6 separate regions of the Homo sapiens genome follow, and all the other regions are linked to region 1. The links are contacts of gene promoters, found by promoter capture Hi-C in blood cells and fetal thymus (Javierre and others, 2016). All regions are on one chromosome and are shown on one strand. Each heading gives the region's core, a stretch centred on a gene start or on the middle of the fragment in contact. The rest is flanking DNA. Distances are from core to core; before and after follow the strand shown. Region 1 holds the start of SFT2D2 (SFT2 domain containing 2). Region 2 holds the start of SLC19A2 (solute carrier family 19 member 2). Region 3 overlaps SLC19A2 (solute carrier family 19 member 2). Region 4 overlaps BLZF1 (basic leucine zipper nuclear factor 1). Region 5 overlaps NME7 (NME/NM23 family member 7). Region 6 overlaps NME7 (NME/NM23 family member 7).

Evidence for each region. The method cuts DNA at HindIII sites, captures the fragments that hold promoters and counts their contacts. A CHiCAGO score of 5 or more calls a contact.
Region 2: the fragment with the promoter of SLC19A2 here is called in contact with the fragment with the promoter of SFT2D2 in region 1 in 1 of 17 cell types (naive CD8 T cells); the score reaches 5.2 in naive CD8 T cells.
Region 3: a contact is called between a fragment that was not itself captured here and the fragment with the promoter of SFT2D2 in region 1, in 1 of 17 cell types (total CD8 T cells). The highest score is 5.8, in total CD8 T cells.
Region 4: a fragment that was not itself captured here is called in contact with the fragment with the promoter of SFT2D2 in region 1 in 1 of 17 cell types (naive CD8 T cells); the score reaches 8.1 in naive CD8 T cells.
Region 5: a contact is called between a fragment that was not itself captured here and the fragment with the promoter of SFT2D2 in region 1, in 2 of 17 cell types (naive CD8 T cells and neutrophils). The highest score is 6.4, in naive CD8 T cells.
Region 6: a fragment that was not itself captured here is called in contact with the fragment with the promoter of SFT2D2 in region 1 in 1 of 17 cell types (naive CD8 T cells); the score reaches 5.2 in naive CD8 T cells.

What each region holds. Positions count from the first base shown.
Region 1 is chr1:168,223,831-168,228,428 of GRCh38, reverse strand. SFT2D2 (SFT2 domain containing 2) reads right to left here and starts at 2,425. Exons shown (of 8, transcript NM_199344.3): 1 at 2,287-2,425. The coding sequence starts at 2,349. RefSeq lists enhancers at 1,219-1,268, 1,389-1,468, 1,771-2,504 and a silencer at 2,129-2,758. The HindIII fragment of the contact is 4,334 bases long and covers 1,613-4,598 here.
Region 2 is chr1:169,484,168-169,488,765 of GRCh38, reverse strand. It overlaps SLC19A2 (solute carrier family 19 member 2), which reads left to right and starts at 2,822. Exons shown (of 6, transcript NM_006996.3): 1 at 2,822-3,203. The coding sequence starts at 3,000. RefSeq lists enhancers at 2,388-2,457, 1,765-2,685, 2,468-2,717, 2,521-2,815, 3,358-3,417 and a silencer at 2,998-3,177. The HindIII fragment of the contact is 10,248 bases long and covers 1-4,598 here.
Region 3 is chr1:169,464,068-169,468,665 of GRCh38, reverse strand. SLC19A2 (solute carrier family 19 member 2) reads left to right here. Exons shown (of 6, transcript NM_006996.3): 4 at 1-22; 5 at 414-555; 6 at 2,689-4,598. The coding sequence ends at 2,817. Among named protein-coding and RNA genes, the nearest start is that of SLC19A2, 20 kb to the left of the region's middle. The HindIII fragment of the contact is 4,671 bases long and covers 1-3,585 here.
Region 4 is chr1:169,381,534-169,386,131 of GRCh38, reverse strand. BLZF1 (basic leucine zipper nuclear factor 1) reads right to left here. Exons shown (of 7, transcript NM_001320973.2): 6 at 3,851-4,070. Among named protein-coding and RNA genes, the nearest start is that of BLZF1, 16 kb to the right of the region's middle. The HindIII fragment of the contact is 9,513 bases long and covers 1-4,598 here.
Region 5 is chr1:169,356,492-169,361,089 of GRCh38, reverse strand. All of the region lies in intron 1 of NME7 (NME/NM23 family member 7), which reads left to right. Among named protein-coding and RNA genes, the nearest start is that of NME7, 9.0 kb to the left of the region's middle. The HindIII fragment of the contact is 4,025 bases long and covers 766-4,598 here.
Region 6 is chr1:169,314,123-169,318,720 of GRCh38, reverse strand. The region is part of intron 3 of NME7 (NME/NM23 family member 7); the gene reads left to right. Among named protein-coding and RNA genes, the nearest start is that of NME7, 51 kb to the left of the region's middle. The HindIII fragment of the contact is 4,282 bases long and covers 54-4,335 here.

The DNA.
Region 1 (4,598 bases), core at 1,176-3,675:
ACTAGTCACACCTTTATGGTTTGCATTAAAGGAATAAAGGTTTTAAAAAGCACTCTCTTCTAGTGACCTCTTAAAGAGATTTTAAGAGCGCCTAATTCAACTTACCACACAAAATAGCAATTTCCCCACAGAATCCTCCAGTTCTACCAGCCCCCAAACCATGAAAAATATGAGACAATCAAATCAGTACCAATATTTTAAAGGAGGCTCTGACCTAATCAGTAAACACTAAGCTGAAACAGCCTGCAAGATGAAGTTAGTCGGCAACAAAACATTTCCTAGGAATTCAAGACTCTGGAAGTGCCATACAATGATGTTATAAACAGAAATCTCACTCAGAAAGAGGAAACTGACCAACTGACCAAAGTATTTTAAAACAAGAACGAAGCACCTATTCTTTTTAAATTAGATCCAACAGATGCCTCAGCATAACACATTAAAGCCCTTCTCACAGTATCCAACACAGACGTTCACCATTTTAGGTTAAAAACAAGCTCAGCATTTATGTTTGCAAACTTTACTAGTCGTCCACTGTTGAGGGTCAGCCCACTGCTTCGTGATGATTTTCGAGACAATAATATCTGCATCATCCCACTGTCAACACTCCACCCCTCAAGAGTCTGCAGGGAGAGAAAGTGTCTGCCTCTTAAGCACCAATTGTTCATAAAGGCTTGTTGACAGTCTATGGAAATAAAGCTTTAAATAACGAGGGTCAGCTACCTATGAGTCAGACCTTTCTTAGGCCCGGTCTGAGGTTCCACTTGAGATTCATAATAGAGGCTAGAAATCAAGAAAAAAAAACCCGTGAAATTACTCTGAGCCTTGACCAATTAATAAAGGCAACAAATTAAAAAGAACCCACCAACTTGTTTTGAAATATCAAAAAGTTAAATTTCAGTGACTCCAACATTCGATCCCATAGAATTACTCCCTCAAGGTGAAGATTCAGAGAGCAATCTTACATTCGGAGATGTCATGCTAAGTCCCAGTATCACACAAAACAAAACCGAATAAAATCAGCAACCACAAACGTGGGTGAAAGCAGCTTGCTGAGAAAGAAGAACTTGCTGAGAAACCAGAAGAAACACTGATTAGTTTCCAGTTGGCCATATCATCTTAACATCCTCATTTCACAGATGGGGAACGGAGGCTAAAGAATACACCAAAAAGCGAAGAGAAACGTTATTTTGTCATCCAAAAAGGAAAACAAAAGCTAAAAGCACCCTAAATAGAAATGCAGCATTCTGTGTGGTTCTACAACATAGGACATTAGTGGCCAGGTTTCAGCACGATCAAAACTTTTCTAATAGGCCGGGCGCGGTGGCTCATGCCTGTAATCCCAGCACTTTGGGAGGCAGAGGTGGGCGGATCACTTGAGGTCAGGAGTTCGAGACCAGCCCGGCCAAGATGGTGAAACCTCGTCTCTAGTAAAAATACAAAAATTAGCCGGGTTTGATGGCGGGTGTCTGTAATCCCAGCTACTTGGGAGGCTGAGGTGGGAGAATCGCTTGAACCCAGGAGGCAGAGGCTGCAGTGAGCCAAGATCGCGCCACTGCACTCCAGCCTGGGCGACAGAGTGAGACTCTGTCTCAGAAAAAAAGAAAAAAAAGCTTTTCTAATAAAACAAACCAACACGCAGGCAGTCTCCTGAGGCGCTGGGTGTCTAGAGACTAGTTGTGGGCAGTGTGGACAGAGACACAAGATGTGGTCCCTGTCCTCATGGGATGGGGGCAGTTTCTCACCCCCAATCACAAGGCAATGTGTACAGGGGCGGGTGGGAGTGTCACACCCTACAACCTAAACCGGACAGAAAACCAAGGCAGAGCTCGGGGCGCGGCCACCAGCCCCGTCGCGAGGTAGGGACCGCCACCCCAACACCCCAGTCCGGGTCTGGGGCCCCGACCCACCCAGCAAAGGCTCCTTCCGCCTGGACCTCGGGGCCCCCAGCCCTACCCGGCCCTAAAGCGCATTCCCCGGCCGGTGGGGCCGGGGCCGACAGCCCAGTCGCCCACCCTCCCACTCGCAGCTCAGTCCGGGGATTTCCTCCTGCGCCGCCCCCTTGTCAGGGAGGATGGGCTGAAGGGGCGCGGGGCAGAAAAGGACGCCGCGGCCACTGCCCCGTGTAGTGCCAGACCTCTTCGCGGAGCCCTGCAGAAGAAGAGGAGGAGAAGGGGCAGAGCTACCGTCCAGAAACTCCAGGGAGTCCCCGCAGGCTTCCCAGGCCCGGGCAGGGGACGCAGGGCGGGAGCGCGGCGAGAGGGGGCCGACGGCCCCGGGCTCACTCACCTCGGACAGGCCGCTCCGGTCCTCCGTGTCCTGCCCGCTCAGCACCTTCTTCAGCTTGTCCATTGCGGCCCAGTCCCCACCAGCTCCAGCTCCTCAGCGGCAGCCTGTTGCGCTCGCTAAGTTGACGGCTCTTCCGGGTGCTAGGCAGCCGCCCAGCCGCCCAGGCGCCAACCGCGGCGCGCCCCGCCCAGGCACCTGCCCACCGGGGGGCTCCCGGCATGCCCCGCGCGCCCGCGCTCGCCTCCGCTTGTTTTGGTCCCGGGGGGCGCGGCGGGCCGGAGGGGCTGGGATTGAAGACCACCAGGCGCTGCCAAACACTAATTCGGCGTCCAGAGCAGTTTCAAACCGGAACGGGCCGCGCTCCCTCGCCCTACTTGATCCAGTCAACGAATGCCGAGCACCTACCACGTGCAAGGCTCCGGAGACACAAAGACGGGGGAGAAGCCTTGTGCAGACGGGAACAAAGGCTGTGGTTCATCCATATTGCGATCGTGCCTACACAGGAAAAGATTTTCTTTTTAATCACTCAAGGCCTTAGTCTGGTGTGGTGGGGCGTGCCTGGAAGCCCAGCTACTCCGGAGGCTGAGGCAGGAGGCTCACTTGAGCCAAGGAGTTCCAGGCTGTAATGAGCTATGACCAGGATACTGCACTCCAGCATGGGCAACAGAGCGAGACTCTGTCTCAAAAAAAAAAAAAAAAAAAGTGACTGAAGGAATGTTGAAAGGAATAATAGATTGTTAAATTGTTTTGTGTTTGTACAATTGTTTTTTTTTCTGACCTTAAAAAAACTAAAAGTAGACTGGGCATGGTGGCTCATGTCTGTATTCCCAGCACTTTGGGAAGATGGCTTGAGCCCGGGAGTTCCAGACCAGCCTGGGCAACATAGGGAGACCTCATCTCTTCAAAACATTCTTAAAAATTAGCCAGGCATGCTGGCGGGCATCTGTAATCCAAGCTACTTGCGAGGCTGAGGAGGAAGAATGGCTTGGACTCAGGAGGTCAAGGCTGCAGTAAGCCATGATTGTCAGTACAGTAAGCCACTGCACTCTAGCTTGGGCAACAGAGTGGAAACAATACAAATGGCCACCAACTGATTAATGGTAAATAAAATGTGACATACCCATGCAATAAAAAAGAATGGAGTACTGACACATGCTACAACGTGGATGAACCTCGAAAACATTGTATTAAGTGAAAGAAGTGTGGAGCCCGAAAATTTGAGACAGGTCTCAGTTAACCAGGAAGTTTATTTTGCCAAGGTTGAGGAACAGCACCTGTGACACAGACTCAGGAAGTCCTGACGACATGTGCCCAAGGTCGTTGGGGCATAGCTTGGTGTTATACATTTTAGGGAGACATGAGGCATCCGTCAATATGTGTAAGAAGTACATTGGTTGTGTTTGGAAAGGCGGGACAACTCGAAGCAAAGGCAGGAAGACTCAAGGGGGGAGGGGGCTTCCAAGTCACAGATAGGTGAGAGACAAATGGTTGCACTCCTTTGAGTTTTTGATTAGCCTTTCCAAAGGAGGCAATCAGATGTGCATTTATCTCAGTGAACACAGTGATAACTTTGAATAGAATGAGAGGCAGATTTGTTCTAAGCAGTTCCCAGCTTGAATTTTCCCTTTAGTAATTTGGGGGGGCCCAAGATATTTCCCTTTCACAGAAGCTAGACACAATAGACCATATATTGTATGATTTCATTTATAGGAAATGTCCAGAATAGGCAAACCCATAGAAACAGAAAGTAGACTAATGGTTGCCTAGGGATGGAGGAGGGGAAATGGTAGTAAGAGACTAATGGGGTGATTTAAATGTTCTGGAATTAGATTGTGGTAATGGTTGCATGCACAGCTCTGAACATACTAAAAACCATTGAATTGTATGCTTTGAATTAACTGTATGGCATATGAATTCTATTGCAATAAAGCCATTTCAAAAATGCTTAGAACAGTGCTCAGTATATATTTCACAATCCATTAATATTATCTATTGTAAAATGTAACAGGCATCCACTCTTATCTTTCTCCAATGTGTCTGAGTCTGAACCCAGAATATGGGCTCCTGATTTACCTACATTTATATTTGCACATTGTGCAATTGGCCCATTACAAGGTGATTCATTGTAGCATTGTTTGTAATAGAAAAAAATTGGAAACAACTTAAAAGTTCATAAATGAGGGAAGTGCTTAAATAAATTATGGTACATTCATTCACAAGAATACTAAGTAGTCATTAAACACAGAAGAATGAGGAAGGTTTAATCAATGTCTTCAGAAGGTTTTTTCTGACTGTGCCACACCATCCCTTGA
Region 2 (4,598 bases), core at 1,573-4,072, 1.3 Mb before region 1:
TTAAAAAATATATTCTATTTACCTTTGTGTTAGATTCCTATTGCTGCACAACAAATGAACAAAAATTTAGCGGCTTTAAAATATTACCACATCAGCTTAGCTCACAGTTCTGTAGATCCAGGTGGGCTTGAGTGGATTCTCTGCTTACGGTTTCGCAGACCAAAATTAAGATGGTGACCCGGCTGGGCTCTTCTCGGAAGAATCCCACTTCCAAGCTCATTTAGGTTTTTAGCAGAATTCAGTTCCTTATGATTCTGGGACTGATATCCTGATTCTCTGCTGGCTGTCAGCCAGGAGCCAGTTTCAGTTGCTATAGGATGCCCACATTTCTTGGTATGTAGCCCCCTCCAACAGCAGCACGTCAAATTCTTCTCATCCTTCAAATCTCTCTGACTTCCTCTTCTGCTCTTAGCAGACGGAAAATCTCTGCTTTTAAAGGGCTGTTGTGATTAGATTGGGCCCACCTGGAAAATCTCACATCTGTCATAAAACGTAACATAATAACAGGAGTATTGCCTCATCAAATTCATAGGTTTCACCTCACACTCAAATGGGTGGGGGTTATACAAGGGCAAGCGTCACTGGGGATCATTCTTAGAATTCTGCCTATCGCAATGACCTCTTAGACAAAAATAATAAGAAAACATCTACCCAATTCAAGGACAATTACTGTTTATACCCAACCTCATTGCCTATGTGATTTATACCAAGGAAAAGTTACAGAAGCAGTGATTTACAGATTAACGTGGTTCAGGTACCCAAGCCTCAGGGAAGGGATGGAAAGCTGTTTTTGTTATTGTTGTTTTGTTTTTTGAGACGAGTACTCGCGAGTCTCGCTCTCCGCTCACTGCAACCTCCGCCTCCTGGGTTCAAGTGGCTCTCCTGCCTCTGCCTCCCAAGTAGCTGGGACTACAGGCGTGCATGCCACTATGCCCGGCTAATTTTTGCATTTTTAGTAGAGACGTGTTTTCGCCATGTTGGCCTGGCTGGTCTGAGACTCCTGACCTCAAGTGATCCGCCCGTCTCGGCCTCCCAAAGTGCTGGGATTACAGGAGTGAGCCACCGTGACCAGCCAGAAAGCTATTTTTAATAAGTAGGCTTCTCTTTCCGAGGCCTCTCTGGCTTGCTTTCTCTTTCTTTCTTCTCTTCTACTAAAGCACTGAATGTAAATACAAAGCGATTGTCAAGAAGACCACCTGTTTTCTCTCTGTAGTCCTGATAAGAAGGGTTGGAGTTTAGGGGACTAGACAATTGAATAATATCGATTAGCAGTCCTCAAACATTTTGGTCTTAGGACCCTTGTTAGAGGTGCCCCAAAAATCTGTTGGGTTTTGTGGGTTATACTTATTGAAAATTGCCATATGGTAATAAATTAAACCTGGAAAGTCTTACAAACACAAGAATATACAAGCACGTATTCTCTCATCCTATAAAGCGATGATGTCATCAGACATTATATAGCCTCTGGAGTGGAAAAGGAAATAAAGACTTAGCATGGTTATGAAAATAGATTTGAGCTCGTGGAACCTCTGAAAGGGTCCCAAGGACCCCCAGGGCTTCCTCGACCACACTTTGAGACTCATTGAGATATGTAAATACTGCCAGTTGTATTTCTTCACAGATTAATCAACTCACAGATTTGGGTGCATTCATTTGTGCAGTCTTAGAAACAAATCTTTCCCTTTACCAGTATCTTATTCCATCTGGTAGACTCATTTCTGCTGCTGATGCTTGAAAAAAGTGTCATTTGCTACCACAGGAGGAAAACGGTGCTAGATGGATCATAACATACAGAAAAGCAAGATAGTTCCAAAATGTTTCCAAGAGCTTCTGGCAGGATCTGTCATTCTACAAATACTGCACAGGAAAAATTGCTTTAAATGCTGCATCTTTGCAGTAGAAAGATTAGGATTGAGCCAGGCTGTGAGTCAGGCAGAAAAAGGCACACAGAGGGGGATGAAAGAAAGCACTGGAGAGTCTTGTCATGCTTTGCCCTTGAAAACTATGCCAAGACCTCTTTTGTGTTTTTAAATGAAGAAATCCATCATGTTTTGTGATTGCTGTAATGACTCAGGATCTTCCACCTTCCTTTTAACTATAAACCGTAGCGTAGTTAGGTGTTTGTTTTCTTTGTATCATGCTTGCAAAAAGTGACGAAATAAAGTTAAAACCCTTTAACTGGGACTCCATTACGGTTCTGCTGTTCAGTGACCAGCTTGTTCATTATTCTCACAATATTATCTACTTTCTTCATTTCAGTCTGTCTCTTAGATCCTGGGCTTCTGATGTCTTTCCATGGCGGATGAATACAATTTAAAACACGAAAGCTGCTGGAGGAAAGGTTTAACGTTCCCCCTCCCCAAGGTGAAATCTTTGCCTGGCCTCAGTCACTAAGTCTCTCAGGAGCGGAAACTGAATGGACATTCCGGAGACGGTGAATAAGAATGATAAACGGTGGTTGGGGAGAACAGCGCGTTTCTTCCAGCGGAGGACTAGGCCCACAGGACGCATTCCCAACAGATGAGCGGAGCCGACAGCAAGTGTGCCACGAACGCCAGCTGGCCGCCTCACTAGAGAGAGCTCCGCCGCAAGCCGCCGCTTTTGGAGTGGAGTTCCACATGTCCTCCGCGCTTGAGCCCTGGGACGTCAGAGGCCTGGCGTGCTGCCACCGCCCCAGTTCACGTCGTGTGACCCACGACCAATGGAAGAGCAGGCAAGTATTCCCGGCGTCCGCTGTGATTGGTTCCCGGAGTGGAGGCGGTGGCAGAGGGTGGGCCTTAGGACGGGTCTCCCTTAAACTGGGCGATCAGGCAGCGACCCTAGAGGCGTCTGTAGGGTAAAGCTGGGGGTTCTGTAGCCGGAGGCGGCGGCGAGTCCAGAACGTCCTGGCCTTACAGGGAGAAGGCGTCACTCGCGGTTACAAGTGCCTGACCCTCACTCCAGTTGGCGGAGGAGGAGAAGGAAGGGGCCGGGCCGGGTCCCCTCCCCTCGCGCCCCGGATGGATGTGCCCGGCCCGGTGTCTCGGCGGGCGGCGGCGGCGGCGGCCACTGTGCTCCTGCGGACCGCTCGGGTCCGTCGCGAATGCTGGTTCTTGCCGACCGCGCTGCTCTGCGCCTACGGCTTCTTCGCCAGCCTCAGGCCGTCCGAGCCCTTCCTGACCCCGTACCTGCTGGGGCCGGACAAGAACCTGACCGAGAGGGAGGTACGCGCGGCGGACGCGGGGCGCGGGAAGGGCGGGCGACCGGCCTGCGGGTGGGCAGCGGAGGAAGAGAGGACCGAGAAAAGCGCTCGAGCCATTCTCGGCAGAGATTTCTGATTTTGCCAGTTGGAGGTCGGCTTCGTGCTCTTCTTTGTGTTCATGATTTTCTGTTTTCTTCGGCTCTGTAGGACGAGTCTCCTGCGAAGGGCTCAGAACACGCGTCCAGAGGCCCCGTGCCTTGTGCGTCAGGCAGTATGCTGATCGTGTTGTAATGTGGCTTAGCGTGACTGCCCAGACTGGTCCAGCAGTTCCTGCTGGGGGCGAGGGGGCAATATTTTGACAAAGAAGTGAAAACAGCAAAGTGTACTTTGGACACGGCTTAGTAAATATTCATTGACTGAAAGTAGGCAACCACTGCTTTTCTGAAAGGATCTTCCCTCTACCTCCTTCACCTGCTTCCTGTCCATACCTTACTTTGTTTGCATTTGGCAGAATGGGTGGGCTTAATCAAGTAAGGACAGGACAGAAGTACAGAACATCTTAATTTGTCTTGATTTTTAATTGGGTGAGGTTGTGTCCAAGGATATCCTGCCCCTCTCTACCTTAAGACCAACCTCCAGGGATAAAGGCAGATGGTGAAACATAATTGACTTTTAATTATAGTGTTTCTTGTATTGCGAATTGTTGCTTCACAGATGTTAGTTTTGCTTCTCAGATACAAGGTGATGTCTTTGAAGGCCTTCTGTGATGTTCAGGGTAATTGAGAGCACGTAGTCCATCATCAAGAGTTTCTTGCTGATTGATTTTTTCCCTAGATGAGGGCTTACAAATAAAGTACTTCAGAAGCGCATAGTGTACTTTAGAAATGTGCTGACCTATTTAAGTGCATGGTCAAAACCAGCACTTGATTTTTGCAGAAGAAAGACAATATATAAACTGAGAAAGAAATTAAACCCAAAGTACTTCCACAAAACCGAAATAAAGCCGATTCAACACCCTCTTCCTTGAATACAACAAAGGGTGAAAGCTGAGGTCTCATGTTCTTTTTCCTACTATCAGTCAAGGGGCCACTTGAGAGCTTTTTCTTTTTTCCTACACCTGTTCCTTCCACCCTGCCTCCTTGCCCCAGGTGCTGTAAAATACTCCTCCCATTTAAACCTTACTCTTCTCTATGTGGGTAGTAGTCAGTCACTTCTTTTGAGTAGCCACTCAGTAACCCTGCATAACAGGTCAGAACAAGAGATGGCACTACCGGAATCATTTGCACACTGGCGAGATATAGTTACTCATAGTTTGTTGTTTGCAGTTTGTTTGTTGCAATGCTCCGTCATTTTCAAGGGCACTTGAGAGAGAATTAAGAATCAGTATTGACTTACGTATTGAGGGTTTCACTTGAGA
Region 3 (4,598 bases), core at 1-2,500, 1.2 Mb before region 1:
TGTTACTCATCACGATAGCAACGTATGTATTTTGGCTCATAGAAGCCTTAGGAAAAATTGTAACAGGATAAATTTTTTGGTTTCTTTACAAACCAAAATATTCAAGTTTCTAGTTAAATGAGGCAAATGGGAGGAAGCATTGTATTATATGTGCATTATCAGTTTTTCTCCTGAGGAAGCATTTAGGCAAGTTTTGTTTATTCCCATGTTTGTATGTTCCTACTGTTTTCAGATGTTTGCATGAGATTTATATCATTTAGTTGCAGAATGTTTTCATTTGGTTGGAAAGGCAATTGACAGTAGAAAGAAGGACTCTTCATGTTTAAAGATAAATGTTTACTTTTATTTAGAATAAATATTATAAGTACTCCAGAAGTAATTCTTATTTATTCACTCTTTTATTTTTTTTTAAGTTTTCAAATTGCTGCAAACCTCAGCATGGAACGCTATGCCCTAGTATTTGGTGTAAATACCTTCATTGCCCTGGCACTGCAGACGCTGCTCACTCTAATTGTGGTAGATGCCAGTGGCCTTGGATTAGAAATTACCACTCAGGTAAGATCTCTCCTTTGGCATCGAAGGTAGTATGTGTGACTTGATCAGGGTGACAGAAGTATATGTATGCTTAATGAAAACAAATCCAAACAATAGGGAACAGATGTAAAGTAAAAGCATACCCTCCTTCCTTCATTCAACATCTTCTCCCCTATCCTTAGTTCTTTTCTCCTGGGAGGGTGTTGGGATTGTCAGGTCTTAGAACATTCCCGAGTGTAACTCATCAGCCCAATGGGGCTGTTTCAGCTGAGAGGTAATATTGATTCCTTACAGACCAAGACCTTCTGCTTCCTCATCCATTATTTCCCTCTATACTTAAATCTATGCTTGGAATACTGTATCCCATGTTTGAGATTCCCTGCTTCATCTCACAACTCTTTAAGTCTCCTCCCTTCTTTATTTAAAACACCCCTCACCCAAATACCACGGTAATGCCTTGCTGCTGATGAACAACATTATGATTTGTAACTTATGACTATTGAGAAACTTGCACCAACACCCAACAACAATGTGAATACTTTTTACGTTCAGGAATTGTATAGTTGTATATGCCTTCATGCATTGTGAGTTTTAAGTATATCTTGTTTTGTACTTTGGTAAAATGGGCAACTGAATGAATCAAGAAGTATTTACTCCCACCCCCATCCCAACCCAAATGATTTCTTCCCAACATATTAGCCGTAATTAACTTTGTTTTTACTGAAGCGATCTAAGAGAGAAATAGTAATAATAGACAATGTGCATTGAGTGCCTCTACGTGTCAAGTGCTTTATATAGGATTTGTAGGGTTGCTGTATTAGACATGAAGAAGATGAGTCTGAGAGATGTTAAGTGACTTGTCCATACCATCACTAGTAGTGTTCCAGAGCTTAGAGTTAAACCAACATCTAACCCCAAAACTTATTTCAGGATGGAAAGTAGGAGAGAAACTTAAGTGCTTGCCATCCTCCCTGTATAAGGGAGAGTTCCCAGGACTATTACAGTTGAGGGAAACATGGCTGTCATTGGAAGTGGAAATTTGTCAGCAGATTCTTATAGAAATGGTGGATTTAAACACGTGGAATAATAGGATTTTATGGGTGGTGCTGAAACCCTAACTGCCATGATTGATTAATGGCTTCCTGCAGAAGTGTAGCCAACATTGAAAGAAACTGGCTCAGTGATTTAAGGCCATACTCTCATTGTACTTTTGAACCAGTTTGTAAGTATTTAGTATGTTATTTTAAGAAGATGATGATGATGATGATGTTAATAAACCATATAGTCACATTAAAATTTCGCTTAGGGCATCATCCGCCGCAAACTAACACAGGAACAGAAAACCAAACACTGCATGTTCTCACTCATAAGTCGGTGTTGGACAATGAGAACACATGGACACAGGGAGGGGAACAACACACATTGGGGCCTGTTGGGGGGTGGGAGGCAAGGGAAGGGAGAGCATTAGGACAAATACCTAATGTATGCAGGGCTTAAAACCTAGATGATGGGTTGATAGGTGCAGCAAACCACCATGGCACACGTATACCTATATAACAAATCTGCACATTCTGCACATGTACCCCAGAACTTAAAAAAAAAAAATTGTCTTAGGGAAGAATTCTTACATTAAGTAATCCTGTAATGGAATATAGTTGACCTGCCGCTGCCCTCTTCTGGGGAAAAATAGAGAAGTTCTTGATCTTCAGAATTTGGCCTATTTGTACCCACCTATCAGCTTGAAGGCAGAGACCAGGACTGAATTATAACAATAACAGCAACAACAATAAAAGTAATACTAACAGCATTAGCATTGTGCTAATAAGCATTTATGATCTCACTGATGGGTACCAACATCGCTGTAAAGTGAGAACTACTATGAATTCCATTTTGTAAGTGAAGAAGGGCTCAGAGATGAAGTATCTCAATCAAGTTCACGCAGCTTGTAAGGGATGAAGTCAGGATTCACACTCAGGCAGTCAGGCTTTATTTAGTACCACCGTGCTGTGATGCTGCTTTGTGTCTTCAGGGTCTGGCACGTGGTGTAAGTATGCAATATTTTTTGAGGCTTTATGGACAAATTCTGAATATACTTTATTATAGAGTAATCCTCTTGTCATTGATAATTCAATAAACTGCTTTTCCCCCTTCTAGTTTTTGATCTATGCCAGTTATTTTGCACTCATCGCTGTGGTTTTCCTGGCCAGTGGTGCAGTCAGTGTTATGAAGAAATGTAGAAAGCTGGAAGATCCACAATCAAGTTCTCAAGTAACCACTTCATAATATACTGCTGAAGGGCTTCTTCTTATAGCAAGAACTCTGCACAGCAACTGCCTGGATGTGTTTGATTTTTTAAAGCGTAGACATATATTTATGAATGTGCATTTCTTGACTTCACAGCAGCCACTTGACTAATACCTTGTGTTCCGGGAATAACATGATACTATTCAGAGGAGCCAGAAGTAAAGTTTATTTCATGGATTATTTATGAGAGCTAATTTAAGGATGACTTTTTTTCTGATTCAAAAGTGAACTTGATTTTAAAAACCAGTCAAGAGCAATCAAAGCAGCACATGGTGTTGTATACTTCATTAGCAAGTGAGTTTGGTGTTTTATAGGTCACATATGTCTGTATCTACTTAGCCAGATGCTTGGCCTGGTGGGACCAGGGCTCCACAGAGGCCACAAAATGTTGCAAGTCATGATGGATGGAAATATGTTCTAACAGCATCTGCCTCTATTCAATTTAATTCTTATTTCTGTGTTACTCATGTACATTGGTCTTTCTACATAGTTATTCTATCACTGGCAATATTTGTTCTGGTTTAGTGTTCTGTATTTTAAGGTGTACGTATCATTTCTAATTTTAAGTTATTTTAAAAAAATTCATCATATGAATGTTCTTGGTTCCCATTGTGACGATTATTTATTTCTGTAAAATTTGTTTAGAAGTACGTTTTTGCATTATTCATATGCTTCCCAGAGAAGCTCATTTAGTTAGAAAATAAGGCAAGTTTTGAAGCCTGCTAAATGAAGAGACTTAAGAAAGCTTAAGGTACGCTTGCTTGTCTTTAAATCTTCAATATGAAGGACTATTAATTCCAAGATTAAAAGTTCATATATAGGCTAAAGATGTAACTAGGCCATTTGTATTTGTATTCCCTTTTATTTCCAAAATAAAATGAAAAATCTTTTTTTAATAATTTCATCCCTATTTATAGTTTTTATATTAATTTGTTTTTCTTATCCAAGTAAAGATGTCAATAGGAATTGCATTAGTCCAAGGCCTTTTTCATAAACTGAGCCTCTTTTCAATTATTTCAATGGGACAGGAACTAGGATAGATGTGATTCCTGCATTTTTTTACCTTAAATCTGCCTTTGTTTCTAAAGGTAGATCATCTTGAATATTTGCTTAAAATTGCTAGTGATTTCATTACCAAGTTACTTGAAAAAATGTTCTATATGCATTTAATTCTGAAATCAGTCTACCAAGGGGCTGCTAGTATATGTCAGACATGAAAACTATTTTAAAGCTGACTTTGTTGCCTTATCTTGAAAAGAATCTAGATAGGTGCTTTTAACTGGGGTATTAACTTTTTTAGAATGACACAGCTGAACAGTGTTAATAATAGTGTGTCAAGATTGCAAAGTCGACATACTCATTTGGTTTAAGCAGGAATCCTAGAAGCAAATGGATGGGGATAAGAATAGGTCATTTTCTATTCACCATCCTTTACTATTAAGGGAAAGGAAAAGAACACTAGCTAAGGAAGGGAAAGGGAAGTGATATCATAAAAGTAGCAACCTTCATTTTACATTCTGTCTGTTTTTCTTTTTTTGCTTTGTTTTGTTTGTGCTAATTTGGGAATTGTGTACTCCGAAACAAGTAGAAAAGTGCTGTTTGAGGGATTTTATTAAATCTTTTTTTAATGGAATGTGGTACAAATTGTTCATGTTACCAAAGCAATATTTCCCTGGAATTTAATTCAAAGTTTGTGGCATACAACCTGAGCCTTTTCTTATATAAGACAAGAATATGTTCACATCTTGGTATGTGGCCAT
Region 4 (4,598 bases), core at 1,195-3,694, 1.2 Mb before region 1:
CCTAATCTGTCTCCTTTACTGAGACCCAAAACAGGAACTCTTGAGCTGAAAAAATTTCTCCAGTTAAGGGCAGGGATAACGTGCCTGGCTCACAGCTCTTGATTCTCATGTTCCTATTTTCCCAGTCATCACCACATGATGTGTTTGGGTTATGGTACAAAGGTAGCAAGCACTGCAATTGGAAAGAATTCTGAAATGAATTGGGAAAAGTGCTTTCTCTCTTTCTTATATAAGGCTTGTTCAAAGCAGCTTTCTGGAATGGTTGGTGATGCCTGTTTCCCTAGCGGTCATGTGGTCCTGCAGATTTTTTTTTTCCCTTCTAAGTTACCACCAAACCCAAAGAGCCATCACTACTCTAAGAATGTCCTGGCATCATTTAAGAGCCATCAACTTACTTTAGCACCTCTATTTTTCAACTAGACTGCTTTTTCAATTTAGTTTTTGAGATCCTTCTATTTTTATGGAAGTTTGTTTGGTATTAGAGGATAAGCAAAGATGAAGGGCTTACCTTAACATTGCTTATAAATTTAGAGGAGAAAATAAGTTCTCAAATACTATAAAGATGTTATTACATTATAGGTCTTTATAGAGCGAGAAACAAAATGCTAAGGGAATTCAGGAGCAGGAGACTGACCCACTAATATGAACAGAAAGGTTTCTGTATTTTAGCCTGAAAGTGATGGGGAAGGATTTTATGCAGGGTGCCTTTCAGAGAGATCATTCTATACACAGTGTGGGGGATGGGGGAAGCAGTATGCATAAGCAGACATAAGAACAGAAAAAGGGAGGTTATTGTAATAATCTAGCTAAGAAATGATGGCACCTTGAAGCAATGGGACTGAAAAGTTTAAGAGACACTAAGGAAGAAGGGCTGTCAGTTTTGTTAAATAGGAGAATGTGGTGGATAAAGGTCTGGGAGAAGAAGGGGATCTAAATCAAGCCCTGAGGATACCTAACATTGTATAGTGAAATAAAATGGTTGGATAAAAGAGAAAAGCCTGTAAGCTATAAAGTTATATAAACCTCGGAAAGAATAGTTCGAGAAAGAGGGAGTGGTCAACTATACCAAATGCTACTGGCAGCAACTAAGTAGGCAGTGACACAATTTCCCAACAAAGAGAATAGAAAAGGAGAAACAAAATTTTGGATAAAAATGATTAATTTTAGGTACTGACTCATTCAGTAAATAGCTGAGCACTTAGTATGTGCAAGGGATTATGCCAGACCTTGAGGAAACATAAAAACACAAAGTCCCCAGCCCTTTAGGAGTTTACAATTTGGGAGAGGGATGGAAAATAAAACTATTATAATTTAATACAGTAAAGAGCAGTTACAGATATAAGTGCAAAGTACAATGGAAGGATGGAGAAGGAACACTTCAGATTGCCAGCAAGATTCAGAGAAGGCAGGTTCTTAAAGGTGGTACAGAGGTTGGGCAACAAAAGAGGTGTGGGGAGGGTAGTCCAGACAAGAAAAAGTATGTACAGAGGCATGAGATACAATGGCCTATGTGCATCATGAAAAGTGGTTAAACCCTGCTGGAATGTTAAGTGCAGTGGGTAGTGACACTTGGGAAATGATTCTTGAGAAGGGGAGATGGAAGAAAGATTATAAAAAGCCTTCTATACAATATGAATGAATTCTGATTCAATAATGAGGGAGACTGGGAACTGTTTGATGACTGATTTGGCCTTCTGAAATAACTCTCTGCCAGTAGTGGGTGGGCAGGAGCAGCTAAGAAGGAGGGCAGGGATATCAGTGAGGGGGCAACTGCAGTGGGCTAGGCTGGAAGTCAGGTGTTTGAACTTGGGAGGGGATAAATTAGAAAAAAACTGGTAAGATCTGTAAAATCAACAGGACTAGGGGAATGAAGGAAATAGTAAAAACGATAGCTACCATTTATTGAGAAATTACAATATATTGGAAACTGCTGCAGGCTTTATATGTGTTTTTTATCGAAATCTGAAAACAGCACTATAGAGTAGGTATAATTCATCAAGATAGGGAATACAGGAAAAGGAGGAGATTTTTAGGGGTGGGGGGTTGTACAAATGCAAAAGCAAGGAGAAAAGAGATTATATTTTTAGCCATCTGTGGAACAAGTAGATGGAAATACCTGGCTGGATATAAATCTCTCAGACTCAGAAAAAAGTCTGAGATGGAAAAGTCACAAGCATAAAGCTATGGTAAACAGAATAACACCAAGAGAATAGAGAAAGTATGTTATGTAAAGAAAGCTCAAGAGGGGTCACAGGAAGAGGATGCCCCTCCCCCTCAAAAACTTAGAAACAATGGTCACAAAAGTAGTGAATCGTTTCAAGAGTATGGTGTTTAGGAACGAAGAGATTTTGAAAAGGGGAACACAGATTCCTATGAAACATGAACATCTAAAGGAGGAAAAAAGTCTATGAAGAAGAGCTCAGAGAGGTAGCATCAGGGCCAAGAAAGAGTGATGTTACAAAGGTCAAGGGAGTTTCCAGGAAGGAATGCTCGATACAGTATAATATGATAGTAAATGTTCATGACCTTTTTAAGAGTACTTACTGAGAATAGTGGGGCAGGAAGTCTACAGATTTAAGTGACGGTAGGAATTGAGGAATGGATGGTGTTTAAGTACAAACATGTCTGGACAACTTGTCCAAGATTCTTGGATGTGAAAGGAAGGTGATAAAGCCATATCCAGACATCTTACAATAGAGGGAAGATTTTTCTTTTTTAGATGAATGATGCTTGGACATGTTCTTAAGCCAAAAGGAAAGAGCCAACAGAGAGAAGGAATAACTGTTGAGGGTGAAGCCAGGGCCTAGAGGGGAGGTATGCTTAGGAGAAGAGGAAGGACACCTTTTCCTCTGAGAGAAATGTATGCTGCCATACAGATAGGCTTCTAGATATCTAATGAAACCTTCAGGCAGTTTTCTGCCTCTGTCCCCTTTTTCTTCTGTGGATTAGGAAGGAAAGTCATCTGCTGAATGTGAGGTAGTATTTGATGGGTACTGAAATAAAAAGGCAAACAGCTGAACTGACACAGGACTGGGGTTTGCAGCATACTCGGAGAGGAAGATAAGGCAGTAAGGCACTTATGAATAGAGTCTAGGAAAGCTATGTGGGAAGAGAAACTAAAAGAGTGAGCTGATGAGATACATAAAAAAATATAGGGACCAAGGGAATAAAAACAATTATATGATCAAAGATGTGTTCACATCCAGGGAGTCAGAATGAAGAATCAGAGTTGGAAAGAAAAAAAGTTGAGATCACAGATCACAGAGACAGAGATGTTGAGTTGAAGATTTTAATAGTGCAAGAGTTATGGCGACAGGCAGGGACCCAGATGGGGACATGAGAGTTGTAACGAAGGTGAACTTGGTTGTTGTCACAGACATGTGAGATGAGTATTTGACAAGCCAGCTGCATGGACCCTGAATTCATCCAGGACTATACTATCTGTACTGTAGTATTTGATACATTTCCATCTATATGTGGAAATTAAGTAATTTCTTAGATCAGAAGTAATCTATGAATCTACTAATTTAATCTACATTAAAAATTCTACACAGTGGTTTTTATATCAAAATGAACTCATGAAAAGGATTATCAGTGACTTAATAGCTAAAACATAGGACCTCTTTCAAAACAATTACTTTTTTTGTCCTTAAAAATAGAACAGTAGTGTTAGAAAATATTAAAGCGCAGAAGAGGAAATAATTTTCTCCAAGATAACACACTCAATAGCATGAGTGGTTTAGATCCCACATTTCCTAATTCCTAATGCCAAATGCTTTCCATGATATGTCACCTTTCAGTAAAAGGACAGTGTTAGAAGTTCCATAGATCACAAAAGAAAATATTTTACCGTTTCAGCCATTTTCTCAGCTGGGGTGCTGCAGAATTCAACTGTTGATGGAATCTTTTTTTGATTGTTAATGCCAACATTTCCCAGAAGATGAGAATTTACTGCTTTTGCCAACTTGTGATTTGTTAATGCTAGCTCTGCTGTGCTGTGGGGTTGTACACTAGGGGAGTAAGTTTGCTCTCTTCCCCATTGCAAGGAAACTAAGAGCTCCTCCAATAATCTGCATAGAACACACATGAACACCGGACATAGTAAGAGAGCAAAATGTAAAAATTAATAATAGTAAATAGGTAATACAAATATTTCTGAAATTATATAACATCTTTCTCTGATCCCTTTCTCTCTCAGAGTTCCATAAATTCGGATGTCTTAGTCAAGTAAGTTAGACTACAGAAAGCATATGTTAATCTACTAGGTTGTTGTATGAAAATCATTTAACAAACAGTACTTTTCTTTGTTCTCATCTTTTAGTATAGGAACTACTTACATAATTTGTGCAACTATGGGGATATTCATACGGTTTTTCTTTTTTGGTGAGTTACATTAATTGATTCTTGAATGCTAAACCAATCTACAATTCCTGGGATTCACTTTACTTGGTCAAAATGTATAAAACTTTTTCTGTATTGTTGGACTTGATTCACTGAAATTCTGTTAAGGATTTTTGCATTTATGTTCATTAGAGATATTAGTTGGTGGGTTTTGGCTAATGGTTCTGATATCAAGACAATGCTGGTCTCATGAAATG
Region 5 (4,598 bases), core at 1,529-4,028, 1.1 Mb before region 1:
CATTGATTAATAAGATAGCACACAGTGGCCCCTAACTCATGGAATTTATGGAGAAAAACAGATATTGGAAAATAAATTACAAGTATAAGTTGGATTACAAAAGAAAAATGACAAGGTGAGGTGGAAGTTAGTAATAAAATAGAGTGATCTGAACTAGCCTGGGGTGGTGAGGGAAAGTCTCTTTGATGATAAAACTCTTTAATTGTTTTTTTCCTTAGTTTGAGAGAAAAACAGTTTACATGAATAAATAAACGAATGATGACCTCATATGATGATAAGTACTATGAGGAAAATTAAACTAAGTAATGCAATATTGGTTGGTTCCAAGAGCAAGTAGCCTTGAGTAGGACAATCAGGGACGGTCCTCATGAGGATGTGACTTTTAAGCTGAGATGTCAATGATAGAAAGCAGCTTGCCAGGTGAAACCTAGGAGAAGAGCATTCCAGGCAGAGTCAATAGTGAGCACAGAGGTGCATTAGAGGAACAGGAGGGAGATAGTGTGGCTGGGGCCTAGGGAATGAGAGGACAGCTGGAGGAGAAGAGATCTGAGAGGCAGGAAGGAGCCAGGAATACTGAGACTTATGGAACTTGGGAGGGATTTTGGATTTTATTCTAAATGCAGTAGTATTATACATCTTATATATTTTACCTATTCCATCAAAATATTTTATTTTCCTTGGATTTGCCTTAAACTTTTGCCATATTAATTTGGTCTCTTGGTGCTTATTTTTATCTTATCTGTAAAATTTATGATCTTATAAGCTTTGGGAAATATTTTTCTGAGCTTCTTTTGTCTTTGAACTTCAGAGACTCCTAATTTCATCCCTTATAGTTGCCATTTCATAATTTATTTTCCCATTTCTGGACTTATTTTTTGTTTCTATAATATCTACTCTAAGGTGTGGCGAGCAGAGCTACATATTCCAGATGGGTATGCATTATAGTTTCAACATGGGAGTTATGTTTGCTGCTGTGATCTTCACCTAGTACCTTTCTTGATGCTGCTATAGCATATGATTGAAGTATCTTACTTTCCAGAAGTATCTCCAGCATTCCCAATGAACTTTGTATTCACATTTTTTTCAAAAACTGCCTAAACTTCTTCACTTCCAAAGTTGTCAATATTTAAAACTTTCTGTTAATTAGATGTGAGAAACTGTAGCTATTAAAATGTACTGCTTAATTCACATTTATTTTCTGATACTGGACACTTTGCCTTAATAAGTTGCTGTTGTTCTCTCTCCTGACTCATCTTATGTGCTGTGCCTTCTTCATATTTCTATACTCTTTAAAATGTATCTTCATATGCACACATAATGGCTCTAGAGCTCTCTGATAGATGTAAATTCAACTTTTATCCTTTGTTTTCCATAGTTTCAATATTTACATGATACATATATATGCTATATATGTTTTATATATGTTTATAAAGATATTTAACTTATTCTGTTGTAGAAATATAGGAAAATTACTTAGTCATTTTTAGAAATGAGAAAATATAAAAGTAAAAGTAATAAAATTACATTTATCTATAATAACACTGCCTGTATACAATCGCTATTAATATTTTTGTGTAATATCCTGGTCACATATATACTCATACATATATACACACACACACAGAGATACATATCCTTTAAAATATGATTCTATTATATTCATTGTTTAGAAATCTGTTTTATCCCACTTAATATATCTTTTGCATTTTTCCAGATCAGTTTTAAGAACTACAGCCAGCCCTGGGTAGCCATGGGTTCTGCATCCAGATTCAACCAATTGAGGATTGAAAATATTTGAAAAAAAAAAATAACAATACAATGATAAAAAATACAAATAAAAACAAAGCACTATAACAAGTATTTACATAGCATTTGCATTGTATTACGTGTTGTAAGTAATTTAGAGATGAATTAAAATATACTGGAGGATATGCATAGGTTATATGCAAATGCTATATCATTGTATGTAAGGGACTTGAGCGTCTAAGGATTCTGGTATCTGTAGGAGTCCTGGAACCAATCCCCTGCAAATACTGAGGGACAGCTCTACGTTTTATTCTTTCATTTACTCTGATTTAACCAATCCATTTATTAATTTGTTCTGTTAACACAATACTAACATATTTTTGCGAACACATTTTTATAGACATCCATAATTATTTCCTTACAATAAATTAAAAAGGAAATAACTAGGTGCGAGAGGTCATGTGCATTTTTAGGCTTTCAATATACATTGCCAGACTACTCCCAAAATAGTTTTGCCAGTGAATACTCTGCTAGCAGTATACCATGGTGCCTGTTTCTTCTAAACTCTAAACTGGTATTTCTATACATTACATACATATGTCTAACAATAGATTTGAACTTTTAATAAAACTGTCACCTGCTTTGCTCAGAATATTGAGAGAAATATAAATTACTGTATGTTCTATAGATGAAAGGCACTGTTAATACTTACCTACAATATTTCTTTGTAATTATTGTTTTACATCTATTATAAATTGTTAAAATTCAAGGTTTATTGTCTGACTGTAGTGAAGAATATTAAGTTGGCCTTTTTTTAACTATTATTTGTAGACAGATTTTCCAGTCCTCTCTTGTGTACTTATTTTCAAGATGTAGCTTGTTGAAGTACAAACAAACTGATGTAGAGCTAGAAATCTAAAATTTCAGTCTTTATTCCAGTCCTGGCTTAAGCACTTATGAGCTGTGTGTTATGTAATCTTTTTGGATAGTTATTTTCTCATCCATAAAATCAAAATAATACTTTCTGTTTAGATTACCTTAAAGCATTTTTTGTGAAGATCAAATAAGTTAATATGAAAGTAATTTATAAACTGTAATATACATATGAAATGTGTTATTTTCATATTAACCAGATTGCTGCCTAATGAGAAGATAGTTGAGGAAAATGGAAGAGATTAAAATATCAACCTTCAAAAATAAATATTTGAGGTTAATGGTGTTATGCAATTTTGTGGCTATTGAAAAATTTACTTTTATATATTAAATTCCCTCTTCCTAAATTTCTCTTATAGATTCATTTTCCTAATGGAAATAAGAAAAAGCTGGTAAAAGGGAGGGAAATGGCAGAGATTGGTCTTGAGACCAGTTTCAATAATGGTCATATACTTTTGTGGATAGGGGCAGCTAAACATGTGTGATATGTATTTAGCAGGTATTAGGTGTGAGATCCCTGAATATCTACTCAATTTAAATGGATTAGCTGGGAACATTTACTTTTATTGCTGGTCATGTGAGATTTTATTATTCAGTAATTTGACTGTGAAAGTACAATGAGACCGTTCAGACCCAGTCTGTTTCTTGCCACTTAGACTCAGAAATTCGGCTCTGGAAAAACTGAAAATCCCTTCATCTAGTGGCAAGTACAGTTTTATCATTTATGTTAAACCATATTGCCTTTTAGGTACCTTATTGGATTTTACTGCATGCACTGAGATCTCTAAAAGGTGAATATCTGTCTATCTTAGATATCTGAATATTTTTCATAATTAAAAATGTTCAAGTTTTTATGCAAAGAATGAATGGCTTCTATAATATTATGATCACTTTTTCTAGCATTTCCACATAAAAATTAGTATTGGCCTGATGATTTTATCTTGTCTCCCAATACCCTTAACACCTAGGTTGTGGCATGCATTATTAGAACACTTCTAGAATCAAACTTGACATAATAAGCATTTATATTCAGATATAGAGCAGAGGCTCTTGAACTCATCTTTCTGCCCACTTTTGGGTTCTTGCAACATGCTATATATATGAGATACAAAGATGAACAAGACTAGATTTCTTTTTTAAAAAGCTCACAGTCTTGGAGGAAGAAAAAAGAGAAGAAGAGAAATACATGATACACTGTAACATTGTAATACTAACTTAGAGAAATTCAATTTCTTCATTTGTAAAATGAGGATAATAATAATAATAATAATACTAGTTCCCTTATAGGGATATTATTATAATTAAATGATAAACTGTTTAGCCCAATGCTTTATACACTGTAAGCATCCAAAAAATGTTTGCTGTTATTACTGTTACTACTGCTGTTGTTATTTCCAAGTGTTAAGATAGAGACCTACTGAATGTGGGAACACAGAAGAGAGGCTAATGACTGAAAGAACGCTAATTAAAAACAAGATTAGTTGACTTTACTGCTTTTTCTCTGCAATTTTTCATTCACTGAGCTTCAGGTTTTCTTTAACATGTGAATATGTATAAATCCAAAATTAAACTTATGCATATTAATGTCAACATTGATTCCCTAAAGTTACTGGAACGCATTTGGAAATGAAGTAGGAAACTCCGTCATTGTGGTTCATTCTTCAGGGTTCAGCCTAGTGTCCTGTACAATTAAGTGCTTCACAGATGCTGCCCCCTACCCCACTTTCTTTTAAACATTTTTGTTCATTGACCCAGATGTCCCTTTGGGTGAGTTTTGAGAGGACACAAGATACACAGAGTTGGTGACTATTCAGAATTATTTGAGGTAGTTCTTATTCATATAATTTTTAAGCAATTCTTTTTGGTTTAGCCTTCTGAGATATACATTTTCAAAGTTTACATCTTTTTTTTTCCAGTTT
Region 6 (4,598 bases), core at 945-3,444, 1.1 Mb before region 1:
TTGCTTTCCAAATTTATGTCATCACCCCAGCTGTAAAACCATATGTTTAAGCTTTTTCCTGAACGTTTCCATGTAGATTTTTCACAGGAACTTAAAAATCCAAAATTGAATTAATTGACAAATTCAAAATTAAATTAATTCTCTTTCATTGAAAAACCTACTTCTGTATGCACTAACACAATATTCACCTAATTACATACTTACAAAATTGGTGGCTGTCCTTGAGTTCCATATGTATTTTATCCCTAAATCCACATGGGGACCTAATCTTACCAATTTACTTGTCTCCTTCATAGATCTCTCTTATTTCTCTTCTCTTTTTTATCTTTTACATTCCTCCTTAAAACAGCTTCTTGTCATCTCTTGAGCTCAGTTAGTCTCCATTCTTCCCTCCAAATTACTAACTGATGAAGAACTAACACAGGAGATAGATGTAGATCAAAATATTAAGTATTAATTTTACTTAGGCTGTCTTGTGAAAGCGTGTTTGAGAATGGTTGAGGCTTTCTTTCTATTCCTATTTCCTCTATCCCTTACACTGATCTGGAACTTGAGGCCTGCCTGAGGAAAAGTTGGATCTACAGAACAAACTAAGGGCATACTTGCCCAGGGTTCTCATCCTGCCTCCCAGCCCATGGAGCACAGGAGAGAGAGCACTAGAGAGAAACAGGCTTCCACTGCAGGTGCCGGACTCTGATTCCAATGTGCTTAACATGTGAAAGCAGGAGAACAATACGCTATCCCTTACTTGTACACTATCCCCTACTTGAGGGTCTGCAGGTCTGAGAAAAAAGAGGTCGGGCCACAAATAACCAGAAACCCTTAAATATGGCCGGACATGGAGAAGCAAATGGAAGAAGTAGAGAGAGAGAGCACTTTCTTATGGGAACAGGGATAGAAGTTACTTTACTCATGAGGAGCAAGAGTACACATTCCTAGTTGTTTTCTGGGTTTTATACCTTTAAGCCAATTGGCTGCCATGCTCTAGTAGACTATGGCTACTTCTCGGGGAACAGACCAGATGAATATTAGTTTAGTCTTGCTCTCACCTTTGGGAAACCTTTCCCTCAATACCAATTACTGTTGCTTTGTATATTGTCCTAGGACCAGTGGTGAGCAGTTGAGTTTTGGCTGCAGAAGGGCACCCTAATGCCTTAGAGGAATACCTTAGTTCAGTAACAGAGGCCTTGCTAAAAACTCACCCCCAATCTTTTTCTCATCTTTACTTATCTATAGTATCGTTGTCTAAGATGGCATGCTATTGATTATACGATAGACCCAACAACAGTGTAACTGCCTCCCAAATAATACAATGAAGAATGCCTTCTCATTATTAAATTCCCAGGGAGAAATTGATATTTTTTTCTGTAAAATAAGAATTCTGCCTTTCCATTCTACAATTCTCAGTCATATGGTCCTTGGTCAGTTAACAGATTAGAGTTGAATTTCCTTTTCAGCTCCAGCTTGAGCCATCTTTCCTTAGAAAGGGTTTGATTGATAGCGTATTTGGGTTAATTAATATCTTTTTGCCATCTCTTTTATACTTGCCCTGTTATGCTTTAGATATGTCTCTTGTAAATAACATATAGGTTTTTTTTCAATTTAATCTGGAATGGTTATATTTTCATTGGTAAAGTTAATACATGTACATTGAAATATGCTGTGATTATTGTTATTTTTGTATATGTTTCTATTTTACTGTTTTCCTGTTTTTCTATTTTTTTCTTCTTGCCTTTTCTTTGGATTAGTTGAAGAAATTTTTCTTCCTCTCTTCAGTTTTTTTTTTCTATTATATGGTTTTCTATTGAAGTTATAACAAATTACTACCAAGTTAGTCACTTAAACAATACAAATTTATGATCTTACAGTTCTGTCAGAAGTCCAATCAGATCTCATCAGGTAAAGATCAGGTGTTGATAAGACTGCATTTCTCTTGAGGCTCTAGGAAAGAATCAATTTCCTTGCACATTCCAACATCTTGAAGCCATCCACATTCCTTGGTTTGGGGCCACCTTTCTCCATCTTCAAAGCCACCAATAGCAGGCTTGAGTCCTCCTCACACTGACATCTCTCTGGTTCTCTAAAGCTAGGAAAGATTCTCTGACTTTAGGGACTCATGTGATGAGATTGGGCCCAGGGGAATAATCCAGAATAATCTCTACTATCTCAAGGCCTGTAATCTTAATCACATCTGCAAAGTCCTTTTTGGCAGGTGAGGTAATATATTTATACGTTCTGGAGATTATAATGTGGACATTTTTGAGGGGTAGTGTTATTCTGCCTACTATATTCTCTGTTGCTTTAGAGGTTATGTGATTTTTATACTTGTTCTTTATTGGTTAGGCTTGAAATTTTTTCATATATTTAACTTACAGTTCTATAATAATATGGCTCTCTCCCAACTCATACAACAAGATTAGGACACTTTAGCTCTAATCTTCTCTCTTAAATCTTACATAGTTTTGTTATTATTGTTGTTTTTGGACATTCAGTTTTTTTGCCTGCATGTTAGACATTCTTTTATTTATTTATTTATTTATTTTGATAGAAACAACATTTGCTTAGATTTACCTAAACATTTGTTCACCAATTTTTCTTGCATATCAACCTGTCCTTTTAGAATATTTTCTCTTCTTGTTATTCTTCATTTCTTCATTGTAAACTACCCGTTTCTTTTTAATCTGCACGTTTTTTATTTTACCCTCTTTCTTTAATGATACTATTGCTAGACACACAATTCTAAGTTGATGGTTATTGACCAATTTTCTTTATTCCCCTTTTCTGCTATTAGTAGTTACAGAATTATATATTCTATCAATTTTTAATATTTTTAATATATGCAATTAAGGGTATAAATTTCCTTCTAACTGCTTATAACTATATCCTATTATTTTTGATATGTAATTTTTATTCAGTTTGAAACATTTTTTACTTTCTTTGTGTTGTCTTCTTTGGTTTATTATTTATTTAGAATTATGTTTATTTCCAAACATACGGAGATTTGTTTTTCTCTTTTTGTATTGGAATCTAGCTGAATTGCATGTGTCTAGAGGACATATTCTTCATGATTTTTGCCTTTCAAACTGGTTAAGATTTGCCTCTGGCTTAGAATAGTCAATTATTAATGATCTATGTGTGTTAGAAAAGAATGTTTAGGCCAGGTGTGGTGGCTCACGCTTGTAATCCCAGCACTTTGGGAGGCTGAGGCGGGTGGATCAGTTGAGGTCAGGAGTTGGAGACCAGCCTGGCCAATGTGGTGAAACCTTGTCTCTACTAAAAAATTACAAAAATTAGCCGGCCGTGGAGGCGTGTGCCTATAGTCCCAGCTGCTTGGGAGGCTGAGTGGGAGAATTGCTTGAACCCGGGAGGTGGAGGTTGTAGTGAGCTGAGATGGCACCACTGCACTCCAGCCTGGGTGACACAGCGAGACTCCATCTCAAAAAAAAAGAAAAAAAAAAAAGAAAGAAAGAAAAGAAAGGAATGTTTAGTCTGCAGTTGTTTTGTATAGTTTTATATATTTATTCATTAGGTGAAGTCTGTGAATTGTGATGTTCAAATCTTTCACATATTTACTAATTTTTGGGCAGCTTATTCTATCAATTGCCAAGGTTTTATTAAAATTTTCTAATGTAATTATCATTTGTCTATTTCTTCTTGTAGTTATGTTAGTCTTTATATTATAATTTTAAGGGTATGTTACTAGGTGATTTAAATTGTTATATCTTCTTGGTAAATTGAATCTTTTATTACTATGAAGAGACCATCTTCATCTCTAGCAATGCCTTTTACTTTAAACTGTACTTTCTCTGATATTACTATAGCTGCACTGGCTTTCTTTTAGTTAACATTCGCATGGTATACCTTTTCCATTCTTTTTACTTTAGATTTTCAGTATTCTCTTCTATGTGTGCCTTTCATTAGTTTTTGTTTTTGTTTGTTTGTTTTTTATATCTTTTTTTTTCTTTAAGTTCCGGGATACGTGTGCAGAATGTACAGGTTTATTACATAGGTATACATGTGCCATGGTGGTTTGCTGCACCTTTCAACCTATCATCTAGGCTTTAAAATCCAATCAGATTATCTTTTTAAAAAAATTTTTTTATAAATACAGTTTTATAATCTGCATCTACTGTAGAGCACTTATTTGTAACGTAACTACTAATATACTTGGCTTTAACTCTGACATCTTATCCTGAGCTTTCTTCTCCTGCCTGTTTTATTATCTTATTTTTGATTGTTCGGATTGCTTGAGGATTTTTTTCATCTATTTTTTTTCTATATACAGTTAGTATTTACACTAGAAACTACAACATATGTACTTAACTTGATAAAGCTTAAATCTAATTAATATTTTAACCTCCTTCTTTAAAATCTAAGAATCTCAGAAGACTTTAGCTCAATTTTTGTTGGGATTTTTGCTGAATTATATGCTGTTTTTGTTGTGTATTTTTTTTTGTTTTTTTTCCATGAACCTAATGATTTACTATTATTGTTTTATGTAATGAGTATTCATTTAGGTTTCTTCACTTTTTGCTTTTTATCCTTTCTTTTATCTCAAACATTCTGTTTGGGATTATTTTACCTTTGCTTAAATTACA